Regions from separate parts of the Homo sapiens genome. Here regions 1, 3 and 4 are each linked to region 2. The links are contacts of gene promoters, found by promoter capture Hi-C in blood cells and fetal thymus (Javierre and others, 2016). All regions are on one chromosome and are shown on one strand. The core of a region is centred on a gene start or on the middle of the fragment in contact, and the rest is flanking DNA. Distances in the headings are between cores, read along the strand shown. Region 1 holds the start of KRTAP9-3 (keratin associated protein 9-3). Region 2 holds the start of KRTAP3-1 (keratin associated protein 3-1). Region 3 holds the start of KRTAP4-3 (keratin associated protein 4-3). Region 4 has its middle 15 kb from the start of KRTAP9-2.

Evidence for each region. Contacts are between HindIII fragments. The CHiCAGO score rates a contact against its expected background, and 5 or more counts as called.
Region 1: a contact is called between a fragment that was not itself captured here and the fragment with the promoter of KRTAP3-1 in region 2, in 2 of 17 cell types (endothelial precursors and naive B cells). The highest score is 6.8, in endothelial precursors.
Region 3: a fragment that was not itself captured here is called in contact with the fragment with the promoter of KRTAP3-1 in region 2 in 1 of 17 cell types (endothelial precursors); the score reaches 6.1 in endothelial precursors.
Region 4: a contact is called between a fragment that was not itself captured here and the fragment with the promoter of KRTAP3-1 in region 2, in 4 of 17 cell types (endothelial precursors, total CD8 T cells, megakaryocytes and 1 more). The highest score is 8.2, in endothelial precursors.

The regions. Positions count from the first base shown.
Region 1 is chr17:41,231,275-41,234,408 of GRCh38, reverse strand. It overlaps KRTAP9-3 (keratin associated protein 9-3), which reads right to left and starts at 1,960. Exons shown (of 1, transcript NM_031962.3): 1 at 955-1,960. The coding sequence starts at 1,907. The coding sequence ends at 1,428. The HindIII fragment of the contact is 5,484 bases long and covers 1-3,134 here.
Region 2 is chr17:41,007,725-41,010,676 of GRCh38, reverse strand. KRTAP3-1 (keratin associated protein 3-1) reads left to right here and starts at 1,549. Exons shown (of 1, transcript NM_031958.2): 1 at 1,549-2,156. The coding sequence starts at 1,603. The coding sequence ends at 1,899. The HindIII fragment of the contact is 1,175 bases long and covers 1,187-2,361 here.
Region 3 is chr17:41,167,891-41,171,027 of GRCh38, reverse strand. KRTAP4-3 (keratin associated protein 4-3) reads left to right here and starts at 2,807. Exons shown (of 1, transcript NM_033187.2): 1 at 2,807-3,137. The coding sequence starts at 2,856. The HindIII fragment of the contact is 1,788 bases long and covers 501-2,288 here.
Region 4 is chr17:41,210,380-41,213,290 of GRCh38, reverse strand. It overlaps the pseudogene KRTAP9-12P. Among named protein-coding and RNA genes, the nearest start is that of KRTAP9-2, 15 kb to the left of the region's middle. The HindIII fragment of the contact is 303 bases long and covers 1,138-1,440 here.

The DNA of each region.
Region 1 (3,134 bases), core at 578-3,077, 220 kb before region 2:
CTTACATCAGTTCAGGACCCGAAGCACCAACCTCTGTCTATTATGTCTTCTATGAATGCACAAGTTCTACCTTGCTCCTTTCTTACATTCTTCTGATTTCCGTGGAAAAAGAAGTTTTTCATTTCTTTAGATTCTTCATATTGGCCTCACAAAATGTGGAAGGTTGTTTTTATTCCCTTCCTTAGCTCAGAGATTATGGGTTGTGCCAAGTCTTACATGCCCATTGCATAGTTTCTCAATTCCCAGCTTTGTTCTTACATAATTTTACTCATAACACTTCAAGTAGGGGACAAATTGTCTTAACGTGGCATAACGTATGGTCTGTATTTTACAATGAATAACTTAGTTTCATTTACTTTGTCAATTGGTATTCAGGAGACCGATGCTGTATAAGAATTTTATTTACATCACACTGAGAATAAGTTTCTTCAGATGAGGCTCCGTCTCCTGAGTCCACAATAAATTCTCAAGCATTTTTTGATGCAGATGAATTGAATGAATGGCTGGTCAGAGGCTCAGACAAAAAGATCTCTGCATTCAGGGCAGCCATTAAATGCATATCATGCAGCCTTTGCTCACTGAGGTGTGGGGAACTACTTTGGGATTTTTTTGTGTGTGAACAAAAGTGTTATCTGCAAATATGTCAGATTATTCCTCTCATTGTTAAATAAACTCAAGTACATGTCTTGCTAGTGCTGACTTCCAGTGTCTTTTCTACTATATTGGGAGTTAAACGTAAGTGTCCTTGGGCAGAAAGAGAGGACCTCACCTTTGACCAGAGTCTGCCCTTTACTAGCTACATAACATCACACATTAAATTGTTCTCAGCTGAAAAAATGGAGTTAATAATACACGACCATCTGTTTTGAGAATCAAATTGGATAATACCTATGGTATGTGATATGTGTGTAAATCCCATATCAGGAATGCTTTCAAATAAAACAAAACACTATATGAGATGAAGATGGTTCAGAGTTTATTCAGAAACATATAGGTAAGAATCTCTGCTACCAGAGACATAACCCAAAGTTATCGTGAAAAGAAGAAAGAAGGATACAAGAACCATGAGAAGGATATTTAAAATGAAAATATAATTGCAAAGATGATTGATCAGTTGCAGAAACCTAAATTCCTTAGAAGCAAAGAATGAAGCTCTTGATTTTTGAGACAAAGCTGAGATCATGACTCCAAATTAAGAACAGACGAAGCTGGCACATGATCCACAAGGTGTAAGGAAAGAGGGAATGAGGATGAAGTATTCTGCCCTCCCTCAAGCAGATTCCCAAGATTTTAAACATGTAGAGAATTCATAAAAATTTGGGTGAGAGCATGGTGGCTGTCAGCAGCAAAGTAAATTAGTCCCTCAAAAGACAAGTCAGTTGAGCTGAAGGTTGTTGTGTGAGGATGGTAGTTCTCTTGGGAGTTGATTAGCAGCAAGAAGGCTGGCAGCAGCTGTACACACAGGTGGGCTGGAAACAAGTGGTCCTGCAGCAGGTGGTCTCACAGCAGGCTGGGCGGCAGCAGGGCTGGCAGCAGTTGGAGCCACAGCTCTGGTTTAGGCAACCAGGCAGACAAACACTTGTGGGGTGGTAGCAGGTTCTTCTGCAGTACACAGGTGCACAGGAGCTGCTCTGACCACAGCTGGACCCACAGCATGTGGGCTGGCAGCAGGGTGTGCTACAGCAGGAAGGCTGGCAGCAGCTGGTCACACAGATGGGCTGGCAGCAGGTGGTCCTACAGCAGGTGTTTTGACAGCAAGTTGGGTGGCAGCAAGGCTGGCAGCAGCTGGAAACACAGCAGGAGGGCTGACAGCAGGGTGTGCTGCTGCAGGTGGTCACAGTGGTGGGCTGCCAGCAGGTGGTCCTGCAGCAGGTAGGCTGACAGCAAGGGGAGCAACAGTGGGTCATGGTGTCAGGGATGGAGGGTGGGCTTCTGTTAAGAGGTGAGTTTCCCAAAATCTGATGACCCCTTGCAATCTGGACCTTTTATACACCTGGCCTCCAAAGTTTCCACCAATCAGCAGGACTTTTCCTTGTTGCTGTTTACATTGTTTTCCACAGTCCATTTGGGATTGTCAAAGGGGAAGTTGTTACTGAAATCTTATGAACCTTTTAAACTAAGGGTTTAATCTGTTTCTTAATTGTGAGTTACTCATAGAAAGTTTGTTTCAGATAAAAGGAAGCCCGTCTCATCATCAGCATCATTCCTGCTCTGACCATCATCTGGTCATGTGACAGTTCCTGTTGATCCGGGGGGCTCAGGAAGTTCTCTCTGGCCAGCCTCATGTTTGGCTGTATATAGACTTGGAAGTGTCTGTGGGGAGAAGCATGATGCTGATATATTTACAGTGACAAAATGAATCCATGCCTGGGCCCAAGACTATTCACCCACCAAATTCTGACTCAAGACTAACAGGCATCTCTTTGTGCCACCCACATCATCTGTGTCTTTCAGTTCTTTGAATGTCACTTGGGAAGACGGTGACTGCACAGTGTGTTCCATGCGACAGAGCAGATCGAGAACAGGTGGATGCAGAGAAATCTGCTGAGATTTAGACAGCATCAAGCAATGTATGCCCTAGGACGACCATTCATTCTGACTTGTCTGGGAGTGTGGGGATTTCCGGGATGAGAATGGAGGACTTTCTATCACGTAACTTCTTGAGATTCAGGCCAACCAGCATGTGCTCTGGCTCTAGCCCTAAACCTAGTTACTAGCAGTAACTAGAAGTAAGCGTTGAAATTCAGGCCAACCAGCATGTGCTGTGGCTCTAGCCCTAAACCTAGTTACTAGCAGTAACTAGAAGAAGAAGTAAGTAGAAGTAATTTCTTCTATTTCTTTTCAATGAAGGGATTAGATGAGTTGAGATGACACCTGATTCATCGTGGAGTTCTAACATGTTGAAAACATTGTCTAGGTATATCATTCACTTGAGAAGAATGCAAATTATTAATTTCCAACCTGATATAGTATTACATTGTAAATACATCTATGTCCCCATTACCAGGTTAGGAAATAGAAATTAATGCCATTCTCTCCCAATTATATCCGCTTACTCATTTCCAAACAGCTAATCACTCTATCAAGTTATAATCCAGTAGATGACTTTGGCTTTTTAAAATTTCCATGTGAAT
Region 2 (2,952 bases), core at 300-2,799:
TCCAACATCTTGTTGATTTGCATCTCATTTGGCTTCTGATTCCTCTGCATTGTGCAATTTTCTACTTTAGAACTTGAGCCATCTTATCTGAAAAAATGGGTCAAGAAAATATGTACATGTTTTTAAGCCTTTCTAAGTAAGCCATTTCTAAAGGTTTTACCAGTTTAGTATTTTTCATATTCTAAAGTAATTCTAAATCATCATACTAAATTTTCTACCTTTATCTACTTTTAAAACTTTATTTTTAGAGTTTTAGTGGTTTAGATGAAACTCGGAAATGTCTCTATTCTGGACCACAGAGCCTGGAAGTAAGACAGGGGTGTTCAATGTTTTGGCTTCCCTGGGCCACATTGAAAGAAGAATTGTCTTGGGCCACACATAAAATACACTAACACTAATGACAGCTGATGAGCAAAAAAAGAAAAAAAATCACAAAAAAATCTCATAATGTTTTAAGAAAGTTTATGAATTTGTGTTGTGCTGCATTCAATGCCTTTCTGGGCCACAGGTTGAACAAGCTTGCTGTAAGATGTTGCTAAATCTCCCCAAGTATGTTTCATAAAGCACTGACCTATAGAGCTAATCTCTGAAAACAAACAAAAAGCAGTCCATGGTCAAGTAAGTTTGGAGAAAAATATATGCTATATCTCTGTATTGAAAAGTCATAGAGCATTTTAGCACATTAAAGGCTCCGAGAGGCCCAACAATGAAGAATTCAGCATTTCCCAAACTTACTTACCAGAAAACACTTTCAAGTCCCTTGGAACCAGTGTTCATGGAACTCAGTCTGGTAAATACTGCATCATTTAGCTTCTGAATGGCCCAATACAACCAGCCTTTTGGTTATAAATAATCTCCATTTATAACACAGTTGGATGGAGCTTAAAGGACACCCATCTTTGTCACCCATGAAGGTCTTCATTCCCACCTGCATGTTCTTACCAAGTTATTGTTCAGAGCATATTTGAAAGGAATGCAGAACAAACGATTTGTTATAGCTCTGTTTGAAAGTGCCTCTTTACACAAAACCAAAATCTATTTCTCTATAGATTCTATCCATTCATCTTCATTCAGTTTATTGGAGCCACAAATAATAAATCTAAAATGTTATATCACTTTTTCAGCCTGAGGGCCTAAAGGATCACATAGAACCTGTAGTCACTGGTAGAACAGCAAACAAAAAGCTTACTTGTCCTCTTCATCTGAAAAGTAAACAAAAGAAGTGGGAAACGTTTGCAGATGCCTGGCATACCGAGCCATTATTAGTGAGGGTATAATGATTAGAAGATAATGGCCCGGTACCTTTGAAGACTGGAATGAAGATTTCTGTGTAGTGACACACTGGCAATGTGAATAGTCCTAATTTGACAACAAAACAACCTAAATCTCTTTTATGAGGTGAGCAGTGTATCTTAGGTAATAAACACTTAAGTAATTAGGCATTTTTTATGGAAATAACTATAAACTGAAACATGGGGGAAAAACCCTCAGTAATAGGCTGACGCCCAGGGAGATGGGTATATAAGAGCCAGAGCAGAAGAGAGGAGCATCGAGACACCAACAGACTTCTCTCAACTCAACAAAAACCCACCTCCCATTGCCATGTATTGCTGTGCTCTCCGCTCCTGCAGCGTCCCCACCGGCCCTGCCACCACCTTCTGCTCATTTGATAAAAGCTGCCGCTGTGGAGTCTGCCTACCCAGCACCTGCCCACATGAGATCAGCCTCCTTCAGCCCATCTGCTGTGACACCTGCCCCCCACCCTGCTGCAAGCCTGATACCTATGTGCCAACTTGCTGGCTGCTCAACAACTGTCACCCGACTCCCGGACTGAGTGGGATCAACCTGACCACCTATGTTCAGCCTGGCTGTGAGAGTCCCTGTGAGCCCCGCTGTTAACCAGCCGAGTCTGCACAGGTTCCGTGAGGTGGCTGCCCAATGTCCTCTGCACCATCTGGGCTTCAGCACTCACTACTGCCTACATCAAGGCTAAGGCCATCCCAATCCCCGGGGCCAAGTCTTGATGAATCTTCTTAATTATTTGCACATTTGGGTACCATTGGAGACCTCCCTTCTGTCTTTTAGGCTATTTCATCACTCTTTGAGAAATAACCATTTTGACCATTTGTTAATAAACTTTATTCTGGCTTAGCAAATATGACCTTGTGATTATTTATTTTCATGTCTCCCATTAGGGAAAGTGGAATGCCTACCTAAACCTGAACAGTAGGTTATCACACTATCCAAGATTTACCCCAACAGAATAAGAGCTCTCATAGTGGAATTTATCGAAAAAATAGATACTGGTTATTTGTGATAAGTTAAAAAGTAAAAAATGTGGTAGTTCATTTTATAGAAGCTTTTTATTTAACAGATATTTATTTAATAGATATTATTGGAAGACATCCACTGTGCAAGCACTATGCTAGAGTCTAGAGATTAACAGAATGTTTTAAAAATACTTGATTTTAGTTTCCATTGATTCTGACATTGATTTTTCTTTCTTCCTTAATTGACTAAATGAATTGATCACTGTGCTGGTGTGTATAAATAATTTGATTATCCTAGTCCTCACAGTCATCTGAAATTCTGAGCTCAAAATGCAAAGCAATTTTGAGAAGTGTATATATCCATTTCTTCATATATGCTGTCTTCCAAAACAATCCATTTTTAATTAATGTTAGCATTTATCGAGTATTCATTGATTCCTCAAATGGGGCTTACATTGGTTTACATTAGTCATGACTATGATTAGAAGTTTGCTAGTCTAAGTGACATATAATATCATGACATTGAAATATGCTTAAAATATCAGACTACAGTGTAGTATTTTCTATACACCAGAAATAGTCACACAATTCTGAGAGCAAAAACACACAGTTTCTATTAGAACAAAACTACTACGATAACCACTAATTCATGTCCTTATTTATCTTAGAAAAATCTAGGTGC
Region 3 (3,137 bases), core at 145-2,644, 160 kb before region 2:
TTAAAATTTAAAAAGGTATATGAAAGAAAAACTTACACTCCTTCTGCTAGTCTATATAATAAAAGAAGGACAGTTTAGATAGACTTGGCGTAACTTGTGTGTGTGGTCCTCAAGTTAATATCAAGTATGCTTCACCAGACAGTGAGTAGAATTTAGCAGCAAATACATACAGTGACAGACATCTCGCCTGCTTTTGAGGCTCATTTTGTAAAAATCCAGTGTGCTGTCTATACGAATTTCCCATGGTGGTTCATGCCCTGTTGTTCCATTATCATCCATGTGGACTGTCAGTTTTGGTATTAGAGTCATCTAAAATAGCAAAGATAATTATCAGTGTTTTAGTTTACAATACTCCAAATTCAGTGTTTAAAATCCAGTATCATTTTCTCTACTACGTAGATACTACCAATTGTATTTTAATTATTTTAGTTGCTTCTGTTTCCAGTTGAATATTATACAATGTATGTCATACAACAGTTTAAGCAGATGGGTCTCAAGCTTGGCTGCCCTTTACCTGAGAAACTTGAAAAATTCTGGTGCCCAGGCCATAACCCACAGCACTTAAGTCAGATTTTTTCTGAGCAAGAGTCAGGCATCAGTAGTTTTTAACACTCCCCGAGTGACTCTAATATTCAGCCAACTTGTAGAACCCCTGGATGAGGGGTTGTGATTCTCCATACATTTCCCTACATTCAGAATGTACCTGCCTTTGTAGCTGTGGCAATAGGGTTTTCTTAATCTCCATAAATTTATATAGAAACCTCTCCCCTCATAATCAAAACCTTTTTCTTTTATGTTTTTAATTTTTCCTCAGCCCCTGATATACAGCAAATCAAATGAACAACTGCCTCTTCAGGACACCATGTGGCTTCACAATACAATTGTTTCAATCTTTCATGTTCTCCAGCTTTGCAAACACAGCCCATAAAGTAAAGACTTGTAAATCAAGTGTTTGCTAAACAAGTTAATGTGACAGAAATATTGCAAGGTGTTTGGTCTTTAATGATCTTAATTAAGACATTTAAGGATGCTATCATAGAGTGAACAACCTGTCTCTTTCTTCTTGGGACTTCCTAGTTCTAGCAATGAGAGCCCTGAGTTCAGGGAATGCCCTCAGACTGGGCAATCAGAAACAGCTGGTCACCCTACCATGACATTGGTTGGTATAGTTAAAATGAAGCCCTGGCAGTTATTAGTATAGCTCTGAATGAACTAGTGATGCATGCATCAACATTGTGACTCTCACAGCCACATATCAAGGCAAAGATGACAGACAGAAAAAACAATTATGCTATATATAATTTGTTTGAATGTTCAAATCAAAACTAACCTATGGTGGAAAAATTATTAGAACATTGCTAATAATTTCCCCATATGGCTGCCTCTATGAAGTGATGAGTTTACTGAAGTGACATTTGGGAACTTTCTAGTATAATGAAAATGTTCTCTGTATTCATCCATTTTCATACTGCATGAAGAAATACCAGAGACTGGGTAATTTATAAAGAAAAGGAGGTTTAATTGTGAGTCTCTAAAAAAGACTTGCAGTTCCACATGGCAGGGGAGGCCTCACAATCATGGCAGAAGGTGAAGGAGGAGCAAAGGCATCTCTTACATGGCAGAAGGCAAAAGAGCATGTGCAGGGGAACTGGTCTTTATAAAACCATCAGATCTCATGAGGCTTATTCACTATTATGAGAACAGCATGGGAAAAATCAGCCCCCTTGATTCAATTACCTCCCACCGGGTCCCTCCCATGACACCACGACACCACGACACCATGACACATGGGGAGTACGGGAGCTACAATTCAAGATGAGATTTGGGTGGGGACACAGCCAAATTACATCATTCTCTATCTTAATAGGTGTGGAGGTTACATGGATGTACCCATTTATAAAAACTCATCAAATAGTACATTTGGGATTTGTTCATTTCAGTGTATGTAAATTTTACAATATCATAAAAATAGACACAAACTAAATTAAAATATTTATTTATGAATTAATCCACCAAATTGTCATGTTTGCTAATTTGTTTTAAGTATGATTCTTTTAATTAAACTATAATGAGCTCCTTTGATGTTACTTTATCACAGTATAATACTGTGTGTGTGTGTGTGTATGTGTGTGTGTGTTCCTTCTAGCAAGCTGTGAACTCCCCTGAAGGAGAATCTACATCAAATTTGTAATCCCAATGGCTGGCAACTTGGGTCTCTCAGATTATCCATTTAATGCCTCTGTTTTATAAGCAAGGCAGGACCTTGAGCCAGGTGCTTCTGTAAAGCTTGAATGAACAGAATAAAGCAGGAGGTGTCTGTGTGTGGCCATTAAACCTTTCCTCATTGCTCAAAAATGACACTCAAAATAGGACATTTTCTTCTTGTCCCAGGCCAGAGGCCACACTGAGTAGAAGGGCTTTCCTCTCCCTTGGTCAATGGAATAAATGAATAATTGGTAATGTAACTGACTAAATCTCATTCTGGTACTGGGTACAGGAAAAGAGAGTGAGAAATGTAATTTCAAATGCAGAGTATCACCTGATAGCCCTGTGTAGAGGAAGAGGAAGATAATTTGGTCTAGAAGATGCCATCAAGGTGAGAATCAAGGAAAAGTAGATGGTATAGATCTTATTACATCTGGACAAGAATATTTTCTTCCCAATGATTTTAAGCCATTAAATGGACAAACATTATTGTGTAATCTGATAATTATTTAGCAATTAAATAAACAAAAACAAGAAAAATATAGTGACAACAGGAAACTGGGGCAGTATATAAGAGGCTCAAGGAGACTTCTAAACTCCAGAACCTCATTCTCCTGGGAACCCACCCAGAACCTCCACCCTCTGACGCCATGGTCAGCTCCTGCTGTGGCTCTGTCTGCTCTGACCAGAGCTGTGGTCAAGGTCTCGGCCAGGAGAGCTGCTGCCGCCCCAGCTGCTGCCAGACCACCTGCTGCAGGACCACCTGCTGCCGCCCCAGCTGCTGCATTTCCAGTTGCTGCAGGCCTTCCTGCTGTATCTCCAGCTGCTGCAAACCCAGCTGCTGCAGGACCACCTGCTGCCGCCCCAGCTGCTGCATTTCCAGTTGCTGCAGGCCTTCCTGCTGTATCTCCAGCTGCTGCAAACCCAGCTGC
Region 4 (2,911 bases), core at 40-2,539, 200 kb before region 2:
AGTAATCTGTGGTAAGTTGATCAATAACTGCAAGGCTGGCAGCCCCTAGACACACAACAGGCTGATTGGCAGCAGGGCTAGCAGCAGCTGGATCCATAGCTCTGGTTTAGGCAACCTGTCAGGCAGACACACATGGGGTGGTAGCAAGTTCTCCTGTAGTAGATGGGTGCACAGAAGCTGGGCTGGCAGCAGCTGGACCCACTGCCAGTTTGGCCGTAACAGCTGGACCCACAGCAGGTGGGCTGGCAGCAGGGTGTGCTGCAGCAGGAAGACTGGCAGCAGCTTGTCACACAGGTGTACTGGCAGCAAGTGGTCCTGCAGCAGGTGGCCTCACAGTAGGCTGGGCAGCAGGCAGCAGGGCTGGCAGCAGCTGGATCCACATATCTGGTCTAGGCAACTAGGCAGGCAGACACACATGGAATGGTAGCACGTTCTCTGGTAGACGGGTGCACAGCAGCTAGGTTGGCAGCAGGATGTGTTGCAGCAACTGGGGGGGTGGCAACAAGACTGGCAGCAGCTGGACACACAGCAGGTGGTCCTGCAGCACGTCGTAGGCTGGCAGCAAGGGGAGCAGCAGTGGGTCATGGCGTCAGGGGTGGAGGGTGCACTCCTGTTCAGAGGTGAGTTTCCTAGAGTTTGATAACGTTATTCAATCTGAACCTTTTATACATGGTACCCCAAAGTTTTGATTAATGAGCAGAACTTGTCTTTGATACTTCTCTAGTCTTTTGGGAAATGTCCCAAGGAGGAAGTTGTCTATTCAGTGCTGTGAATTTTCTTTGAGTAATTGATTTATTTGCTTTCTTAATTGACAAATAACCAGTCAGGACTATTTTCCTGAACTGAGAAATGAATCATTCTCCCTACCAATTAAGCACTGATCCTCATTTTTAAAGCTGAGTACAGTATTTGGTCATCTAACAGGTCCTATGTAGCTTAGTGAGATGTCAGGACAATTGTTAGTCACCATCTGTTTTTCCTTATTGCTATTTACTTTGGAAAGTACCTCTGAAGATAGGATGATGTTGAGTCATGGTGATGAGTTAAAAACCAAGTTTAGGGAGGGCTTGTGATGCCACCTGTAATGTAGAAGCTAGTATAAGATTTATCCTCCTGCTATAAACAATAATAAAAGCTTTGTAAATATATAAAACAACTGTTTGCAGATATTGGATGACAATCAGCTTTGGGTTATGATCCTTGAAGGAAGACACATGGGGTAAAAAAAGAAACACATGGGTTTGTATGTTTTCAAAATTGCTGCTGCAGCACATCCTGCTGCCAGTCCACCTGCTGCAGCAGCTGCAGCTGTTATGGCCAAATGCCAGAAGAAATAGAGTCCACATAGAGAGCAGAGGAGAGATAGGCGTTAAAGGGGTTTATCACAATTCCTTCTCTCAGTCTGAAATGTGATTTTTGATGGTTAAGTTTTCTAAAGCTTTATCCAGTTAAAATTATCAGTCATTTCTTTTCGAATAATAATATTTTTGTCTTGGTCAGGAGGTATTTATCTACCTAAAAATAAAAAAAATCACATAAATCATCTAGTGAGGATTTAAGATTTTTTTTGACCTTCAAGATATTGATACACCTGGAATTGATTTTTTTCCTACATGATGAGTGATCAGAATCCAAGTTCATCTTTTCCATGTAAATACTTTTCCATGTAAATACTGGAAACAGGTTTGATTATGATTCCTTTGATTATGGAACATTTTCAGCTTTATTGCTGGATATGTTCTCATTTTCATCCAGAATATTATTTATTTGTGTCTTCTTTACATTTCTTGATCAATCTTTTCAATGGCTTATCATTTATTGGTATTTTTTTTGAAAAAGAAATTTTGGCTTTGTTCATCTTCTCTGTGATGTCGTTTTTAACTAGTTCATTGATTTACATTTTATGCTATTTTGGTTGTTTTCCTTTTTCTTATTCACTTAGGTGAACACTTAGTTCATTTATTTTTAGGTTTTATTCTTGTTTAATATTTAAATATTAAAGGCTATTTAAAGTGTGTACATTTTATCAAAGATCATTTTATAACACCCCACAAGTCTTGATATGTAATATTTTCATTATAATTGAGTTACACATTTTTTCCTTAACATTAGAGATTCTTCCATTTTGGTCTTCCAAGTCAGTATATCTTCTGCAGCTTATCTCACTTATTGTGTACTTTAATGACTATATGCTCTATTATTAATTTAGTATCAGATATTATGCCTGCTTGTGTCTCCTACCCCATTATACATGTTTGTTTTTATTAATTTTTCATTTTGAAATAATTTCATACTCATAGAAAATTGTAAACACAGTACAAAGGATTCCCATATGCCTTCACTTGGATTCCTCAAATGTTAACATTTTACCATGCTTCTTTAACATTATTTCTATACATATATGTGTTACTACTGTTGGTTTTTAAAAGTAAGTTGCAGATAGAATTTCCCTTTATCACTAAATACCACTTTATCCCTATGTACTTCAGTGTGTGTTTCTTGTCACAGCCCAATGATCAAAACCAAAATGTTAATGCCGTTGCAGGATAGTCTCTGGTTGGTTCTTATTCATGTTGTGTGTGTGTGTGTTTTTGTATTTGTCTATATTGGTAATAGCTTCCTTTATGTCTTTAAATGCATTTATTATGTTTAGTTAAAACCCAGTTGAAGATTTGCTGACTGGGAAGATGGAGTGGACAGACTTTTCCATATTCTTTCTGCTAAGTACAACTAAAAATTCTGGATATTATATATAAAGCAAACACGAGAGGACTCTGAAAGGTGGAGTGAAGAAAGCAGCCAGGCTAGAAGCCTCAGGACTTAAGGAACAATAAGGTGGGGTTCTCTGGGTTTTCTTTGTGCTGCAAGTACCCCCCAGACTTGGAGCTTGAGAAGCCTGTAACTCTGAAAC